Regions from separate parts of the Homo sapiens genome. Here region 1 is linked to region 2. The links are contacts of gene promoters, found by promoter capture Hi-C in blood cells and fetal thymus (Javierre and others, 2016). All regions are on one chromosome and are shown on one strand. Each heading gives the region's core, a stretch centred on a gene start or on the middle of the fragment in contact. The rest is flanking DNA. Distances are from core to core; before and after follow the strand shown.

Region 1 (4,003 bases), core at 808-3,307, 230 kb after region 2:
ATCTTCTTATGCCCACCCCCAAAAGAAAAAAGAAGAAACTAAATTAAAAAACAAAAAACAAAAACCCACCTATTTCTCTCTCAGTTAATTGAATTGTCATCTTCCTAGTAACTCAAGGCCATCCTAGATTTCTCTCCACCTTGTCCCCAACTCATCTAATAAGTCGCGAGGACCTTCCAATTTTATCTTCCAAATACGTCTGGAACCCTCTCTTCCACACCATCCCCGCTGCCTTGTCTCCTTTCAGTTCTTACTATCTCTAGCTTGTTAATTGCAACAACCATCTAACTGGTCCCTCTTCCCACAGTCTTTTCTAGTTTTGCTGTCTTTTACACTGCTCATTTGAGTTATACATCTAAAGTGAAAATCTGCAAATTGCCATTTTTCTCAAAGTGTTCTTAATGGCTTCCCATCTCTTAACAAGTGATATTCAAGCTTCTCAGCATGACATATGAGGACCTCTTGAGTCTGATCCCTATAGTCTACCTCCTAGCTTCATTTTCCACTATTTCCCATCTCATTTTTAATTATAGCAATATCAAACTATTTATTATTTATACCCACAGCTACATACTCTCACGAAAGCACTATGCTGCTTCCTGTCTCATCACTTCTCATGTTTCCATGCTTAGAATAGCCCATCTAACCTTTCTTCACCTGGCTGTCATCAAGCTCAGTTTAGGCATGATCCTCTTTCAGGAAGCTTTCCCTGAATCCCCAGGTTAGGCTAAGGGCCCTTCCTCTAGACTCCCATAGTACCTGGTCTAAACTCTTTGGTATCTCTAGCTATGTTATCTTGATATTGTTTGTTTATACTTTATCTCCTCCTCTTAATTGCAAGCTTCTTGTAGTTCAGAGCCATATCATTCATTTTTGTTGCCTCAGTATCTAGCATGTAATAGGACTGTAATGAGTATTTATTTGAACTCAATTAGAGGTTTGTTAATTTTAACTTTATATATTACCATTGTTACATCTATTATCCCAGAAACTTACTTTTATAGTAACTTTTTATATTTTATCTAAGAAGCAAGAAACAATAACAAAATACCTCTGAATAGCCAAAAGAGTTGTCCATGGACTCAAGTTCTTCTCTCCATCCATAGAAGTGTTTTTTCAACTTAGTTTAGAATATATTAGCTTTTACTTAACACACATGTCTAACAAATTGGTTAACTCTTTTTTATGCCTCCTACAAAAATAGAAGCATGGAAAAGGCTGATATAGATATGAAAAAATAGCAACAACAGTGAGAAGTAAAAAGGAGACTTCACAAAGGAAAATACAGGAGCTATAAAACAGCGTATTAGACCACTCCAGCAAATCAGTCTGGGGCCATTTTATGTAAAAGCTAGTAACACTGTGCCCTTTAAGAAGGTATCACTAAGTTGCAGCATATTATAATTTAGCATCTTTATAATGAGCTCAAGACACCAAAAAAAATCTCGCTATAGTAATAATTGTAACAGTATAGTTATAGCAGCAGCAGCAAACATTTTCCAAGCAGTACTATATCCCAGGCAATGTGTTAAGTATATGACATATATTAATTCATTTAGTCCTTACAAGAACCTATGAGGAAGGTACTAATATTATCCCTATTTACAGATAAAGAAACTGAGGCATAGAGTGTTAACCTGCCCAACAGGTGAGTGACAAAGCCAAGCTTTGAATCCAAGCTGTCTGGCTTCAGAAGCAACATTCTTATCAGGATGCCCTACTGCCTCAGAAGATGTTGCTGAGCTCATTATAGTGAATTTGGGAAGAAAGGAAAGTAGTTAATGTAATAAAAAGGTAGAGGATGTATGTGATAGGTTCTAGAAAGATTTTCATCCAGAATGAAAACTGTTTAATCCTTAATGAGATAAGCCCACAGCTGTTCATAAATTTAGTTCTACAGAATCATTTCTCCTCTCAGGTTGTTTTAGAACTTGCCAGAATCAAGGAGGACACTTTTCTCTGGGCAATGATTCTGAAGTTTCAGAACAAGAAGAGACAAAGACCAGTCAATCTACTCTCCCCCGCTTTTTTTTTTAACTCAAGGCAATACTTAGCAGCATTTTTATATTACCCACCCTGTTTTGAACCTCTGCCAAAGATATTATTACTTTGAAATCTTGACACCTCTGTCACTACTACCACCAAAACTGTTGTGGCTTTCTTGGTCTCAGGGGACCACACATAGAGGTTAGCCTGCAGCTCACTGACACACTCTCATTCCCTGACCAGGCCAGTGCTTACAGGGTGGCAGAGGTTTTCTCACCACTACCCCCAACATGCCTGTGATTACCTTCCCTGGGAGGGAAATGACAGGCTATGGTGGCATCAGACATTTTGTTCTCTCACTTCATTTGAAGAATCACCAATGGACAGATTTCCTCTAGTAGATTCCCCAAACAGCTAGTGAGCAAAATTTCTGAACTAAGGGAGACTTCTCAGAAGAATTTTATAAGCTTTTTATATTTTTTGTTGTTATTCAACACATATAAATTGTCTTTATTCATTTGATAAATATTTATTTAGCCTAGGTCACTGTTGTAGGAGGGTGATCCACAGTAAATGATACAAACAAAGTACCTGCTGCCAAGGAGCTTACCTTCTAGTAAGGGGAACATAAAATCAGTCAATCATCAGTCAATCAACAAAGGATGAATGAATGAAAGTAATTTCAAAGAATGATGAACTTAACAATGAAAGGGAGCAGAAATTGTAGGAAGTTGGGATGGGCATAGCCATTTTAGATCAAGTAGTCAGGAAAGGTGCCTCTGAGGAGGTGGAATATGAACAGAGACAGACTATATGGAGTATGCTATGCAATGAAATGGGAGAACGTTCCAGAAGAGAGTACACAGCATGTCTGAAGGCAGGAATAAGCTTGATAGTCTGAAGCTCACCAAGATGGCCAGTGTGACTGGCAATAGTGAGCAAAGCATTGACTGATACAAGGTGAGTTAGAAAAGGTAGATGGAGCTAGGTCAGTTAGGGAGATAGTTGACTTAAAGTCTTGTCTAGTAAGTCCAATGTCTGTGCTTCCTCAGGGATTTTTTATTATTTTTTTTCCTGTGAATGGGTTATACTTTTTTATTTCTTCACATGCCTAGTAATTGTTTTATTGTTGAAAATGGAATAATTTGAATATTATACTGTGGTATCACTGGAAATGGGAGTCTTTCTGTCCCCCTCCCCAAGAATTCATTGTTGTTGCTTGTTGTGGGTTCTAGGTGTTGTTTAGTGACTTTTCTAAATATTTTTATAAAGATATTTTATACAGATATTTTTATAAAGATATTTTTCATCTTATATGCTCACTGAAGTCTTTATTTTAGTAGAGTAACAGTCAGCTAGTGATTTGACAGAGATTTTCTTAAATATCTAGAACCAAAAATAAAAACCCCTCTTTCAGTCTTTGCAGATTGGCTGGGTATTGGGGCACTCCTTCAAGGCTTAGCCAGGCTGTTTACAACTGTATGTTAGCCTTCACTTCCTGCTTGCACAGAGCCTCAAAGGCAGTCAGAAGTGGGAGCCTAAGGTCTTCTTGGGTAAGTTTTAGATTCCCCTGTATACACAGATGCTTTCCAAAGCCCTCATGCCCCAAGTAGCTCCTACCCCAGCCTCTTTCTTCCCAGGCTTTTCAATCTGTATACCACCACTCCCATCTTTTATTCCTTCTCCTAGGTGGCTGCAGCTAGTATATATTTTCCTTTAAATGCTTTTGACAAATGCCTCTTGGCAGGCCATGTCAGTCCTGAAAAAGCCCAGAGATGAGGCAAATAAAATGAAGGCAATCTCCTGAGCCAGTCCCGCAGTTAGCTACTATATAGGTCAAAACACACAACCACAATATTTTGATACAAGATCCCCCTGGTACCAGCAATCTGCATCAGGAATGTGAGCCATGGTCTTCATGGCTGCTGCCAAGTTGGGGAGTAGGGTATGGTAGGTGGGCAAATTAAAATGCCATATGCTCTCTTACTAAAATTCTTTCTTCATTAAATATTCCCCT
Region 2 (4,379 bases), core at 676-3,175:
AAGAGCTATATATCTCAGCCAATCAGGGTCAGCTTAGCGACCCCATAGCCCCCAGGAGCAAATTCAACTCCTCATCTAGGGGCAGAGACCTCTCTCTCTCTCTCTTTCTGCCAGAGATGGCCCCAGCTTTGGGGAGAACAGGCTGGGAAGTGAATCCTGAGAAGAGAATCTGAAACTGCGATAGAACTGGTTTTCAAATAGCCCCTGTTCCCTAAGAAAACAAAAGAAACAACTGCAAAGAACCCTCCTCCATCATCCTCACCCTCCCTAGAAGCCAGGACTCAAGTTGTGTATAGATCAGGACACAGTCAACAGCTTCCAGAAAGGGATAGAGCAGCTTAAAGTCACTTCTGACTTCAAACAGAAGCAAGCAAGTCCCTCTTCCCTTCAAATAGAAGCAAGCAAAATCAACTGCCCCTGTGTTTTCCTATCAATTTATTTCACTCTTAGAAACTGACCTCCAACATGGATGATGGGGACCGACTTGTGGGGAACGTATAAGGATGACTGTCAAGCCAGCACCAATGTCCGTGCACACAGCCATGCACAGCCTGATGTTCTGTGATTCAGCCCTCAGCAGGGCTCCTTTGCTGTGATTGTCAGAGGTTTGGGAAGGTCTGGGGCTGAGTGGGGTCTGGGGCAAGCTCCAGAAAGAGTCACCAGCAGCAACTTACCCATGAAGTAGGTGGTGGTCTTGCAAACGGCGCTCCCGAAGATGAAATCCTTGAGCAGATTGGGGATGAGGTTGAACGGCATGCAGAAGAGACAGAGCATGAGGTCGCTGACAGCCAGGGAGAGGAGGAAGATGTTGGTGACCGTCCGCATCCGCTTGTTCCGAATCAGCACGGTGATGACCAGCGTGTTTCCCAGCACGCTGAGCAGGAATATCAAGGAGTACAAGAGAATCTGCACCGCTGGCTGCCACTCTGCAGAGAGAAACAGGAGCAAGACGGAGGGATGGAGGTGATGACAGCAGAATGCTAAAACCGAAGCCAAGGGTGAATTCCTGCCGATTTTCCCCCCACCGGGGTGTACATCACTGGACCCACGATTCCTGTCCTGGCAACATTTTGCGGAAACAAATTGAGGAAAGCAGAGACTGAATTATTTTCTTTTTAGAAGGTTGGTTTGTTAAAGGATCACTCAGGGAACCACTTTTTCTTAAGAACAAAGCTCCTCAAGTGAACAGTGATCACTTTCTTTCCTGGCTGCTAAGCATTATTTCACTTTAATCACTTCATGCTGGGTTTCCCCCCAAGAAAAGAAAACAGCTGCATGGTGACAACACCTTTTCTGCTGTGCTTGTAAGTTCAGGCTTTGACACTTGTAGTCCCTCTTGCTTCACTCAGCTTTTCCTCCCCTGCTTTTGTTCCCCCAAGTCCTATTCATGAATGCCCAACTCCCCCATGGGGGACAATAAGAATATTTGACTCTATTCTGCTTTTTAATCTCTTCTCCAAACTTCTGAACATATGACTTTATCTAGCCTTGTCTCACAATGACTTGGTTATATATATTTTTTATCAGCCTTGCCTTTGCTGATTTCTCCCACAACTCAATAGTTTCCTGAATTAAAATAACAGCTTCCGACACTTACCTTTGGAAGGACGGGGCTGATCCAAGCAGAAAAGCGTCTCATTTTCGAGCCCGAGTTCACAGGGAGGAGTGATGTTGCTTCCATTCACAAGAAGGCTGTCAACCACATCCATCCTTGCCTGCTGCTTTCCACCAAGTGCTGGAGAGCTGGTGAATTGCTCACTCCCGGCTCATTCCTCTAATGACCGAAGCGTCTCGCAGATGCAACCTGCCGTGGAGGAGCAGGGAGGGAGTGATTTCCAGGTGTGGGCTTTTTCAGCCATTCCTAAAGGCGACTTGAGTTCACCTCACTCACTCCAGCATTTGTACTCCTGTTGTGGAAAAGGCAGTGAGCACAAGCCAAGCCCGCTCCACCTTCACCCCGCCCCACCTCCCCCGGCCCTTTCCTGGGCCAGTCTTAGGGCCCTGAGTACAGACAGCCTGGCTACCCGTTAACCATTCTCAGCGTGTGGCTGCTTTTTACACACATGTGTACATATGCACGGACACACACACACACACAGAGGCTTCCCCAGTACTCCTCTATATAGGAACCCGTCACCATCCCAGACATATGCAGAAGAAAGCCCAAACCGGCTGTGTGAGACAGGAACAATTAACACGGTAACAGATCCGATAATGCAGACCATCAGGCCTAAAGAACACGGAGGGACTGTGTTCTACCTCCTTATAGAAAAGCAATTAGTGCCTTTTTAGCTTTGGAACCATGCCCGGTGGTGTGTGTGTGGACAGAACTGCTGGCTGGTTGTTAAGTTGCTACTAAACACAGTGTTGTTTCTCGTGGTCTCTGCCCTTGTTAACTAGGATTGAGGCACTTTTGAACATAGGTACCTGGGTCCTTATTACAAAAGACGTTAGTGAGATTTCCTCTTCATTCATGAAGCCTTGCATTCAGCACATCTTCATTGAGAGTCAATCATTTGCCAGGCACTTTTCTAGCATGTCAGCAAATAATGAGCAGAATTATTTCAGGTAGTAAGTACTACAAAGGGAGTAAAGCAGGGAGATGTGATGTATACAAACAGATTAGGGGCTGATTTTTTGGGGGGCGGGGACAGGGTCTTGCTCTGTTCCCCAGGCTGCAGTGGAGTGGCGCGATCATGGCTCACTGCAGCCTTGCTCCCTGGCTCAAGCAATCCTCCTACCTTAGCCTCCTGAGTAGCTGGGACTACAGGCACACACCACTAAGCCCAGCTGATTTTTTTAGTTTTAGAAGAGAGGAGGTCTCGCTATGTTGCCCAGGCTGGTCTCAAGCTCCTGAGCTCAAGCAATCCTCCTGCCTTGGCCTCCCAGTGTTGGCATTACAGGCGTGAGCCACTGCACCTGGCCTGGGGCTGCTGATTTAGAAGGGGTAGTCAGGAGAGGTCTCTTAAGGAGGGGACTGTGATCTGAGACTGAACCACAAGAAGGACAAAGTCTTGTGAAGATCCCAAGACAGCTTCTCCCAGGCAAAAGGAGGAGCACTTTTAGCAGAGGTAACAGCAAGTGCAAAGGCCCTGAGGTGGGAATGAGTGTGGCCCCATTGAGGTACAAATAGATAGAAGTAGGAGTGAGTGAGAGGCAAACAGCAGGACGTGAGATCAGAGAGGGGGGCCATCTCAGGGTCCTGGGTGTTCCATGAAGCTCTGTGGTGCTGGAAAGCCCTTCAACCTCCATTGCACAGATTATGTCCTCAGTTCAGACCCTTTGGAAAGCAGACGACAATGGCTGTGAAACCTGCGTTTCTGACGCCCTGCTTGGCTGTGCTGAGACTTGGTCCATTTGCTAGATACCCGTGGGGCTCCTTGTGTACTGACAATGCTTCCACTGGCAGAGCTGCATGCTACATCTTGCTGAGTCTCTGCCAGACACAGAGGAACTAACGCATTTTTACTGTCAGTGTGGGGCTGGAAAGACAGTGGTGCCTCTTTTCTTTGAAACCATGAAGACCACATGGTTTGGGGCATTTAGTCACAGAAACAAGAAGGGGAAGGGACACTGGAGAAGCTGTGGATGTTATTGGGAGGACAGGCTTTGGCATCAGACAGACTTGGGATCAAATCCTGGCTTCACTGGTTACCTGCTAGGAAATACTGGGCAAATTAGTTTCCTTCCTTCCTTCCTTCCTTCCTTCCTTCCTTCCTTCCTTCCTTCCTTCCTTCCTTCCTTTCCTTTCCTTTCTTCCCTCCCTTCCTCCTTTCTTTCTCTCTCTCTTTCTTTCCTTTCTTCCCTCCCTCCCTCCTTTCTTTTTCTCTTTCTTTCTTTCTCTCTTTCTTTCTTTCTTTCTTTCCCTTCCTTCCTTCCTTCCTTTCCTTTCTTCCCTCCCTTCCTCCTTTCTTTCTCTCTCTCTTTCTTTCCTTTCTTCCCTCCCTCCCTCCTTTCTTTTTCTTTCTTTCTCTCTTTCTTTCTTTCTTTTCCTTCCTTCCTTCCTTCCTTCCTTCCTTCCTTCCTTCCTTCCTTCCTTCCTTTCCTTTCTTCCCTCCCTTCCTCCTTTCTTTCTCTCTCTCTTTCTTTCCTTTCTTCCCTCCCTCCCTCCTTTCTTTTTCTCTTTCTTTCTTTCTCTCTTTCTTTCTTTCTTTCTTTTCCTTCCTTCCTTCCTTTCCTTTCTTCCCTCCCTTCCTCCTTTCTTTCTCTCTCTCTTTCTTTCCTTTCTTCCCTCCATCCCTCCTTTCTTTTTCTCTTTCTTTCTTTCTTTCTCTCTTTCTTTCTTTCTTTCTTTTCCTTCCTTCCTTCCATCCATCCTTCCTTCCTTCCTTCCTTCTTTCTTCTTTCTTTCTTTTTTTTTTTTTTTCTGAGACGAAGTC

Evidence for each region. Contacts are between HindIII fragments. The CHiCAGO score rates a contact against its expected background, and 5 or more counts as called.
Region 1: a fragment that was not itself captured here is called in contact with the fragment with the promoter of CCKAR in region 2 in 1 of 17 cell types (endothelial precursors); the score reaches 5.8 in endothelial precursors.

Annotation. Positions count from the first base shown.
Region 1 is chr4:26,721,243-26,725,245 of GRCh38, forward strand. The region is part of intron 15 of TBC1D19 (TBC1 domain family member 19); the gene reads left to right. Among named protein-coding and RNA genes, the nearest start is that of STIM2-AS1, 140 kb to the right of the region's middle. The HindIII fragment of the contact is 787 bases long and covers 1,665-2,451 here.
Region 2 is chr4:26,488,559-26,492,937 of GRCh38, forward strand. It overlaps CCKAR (cholecystokinin A receptor), which reads right to left and starts at 1,926. Exons shown (of 5, transcript NM_000730.3): 1 at 1,598-1,926; 2 at 675-926. The coding sequence starts at 1,709. The HindIII fragment of the contact is 9,380 bases long and covers 1-4,379 here.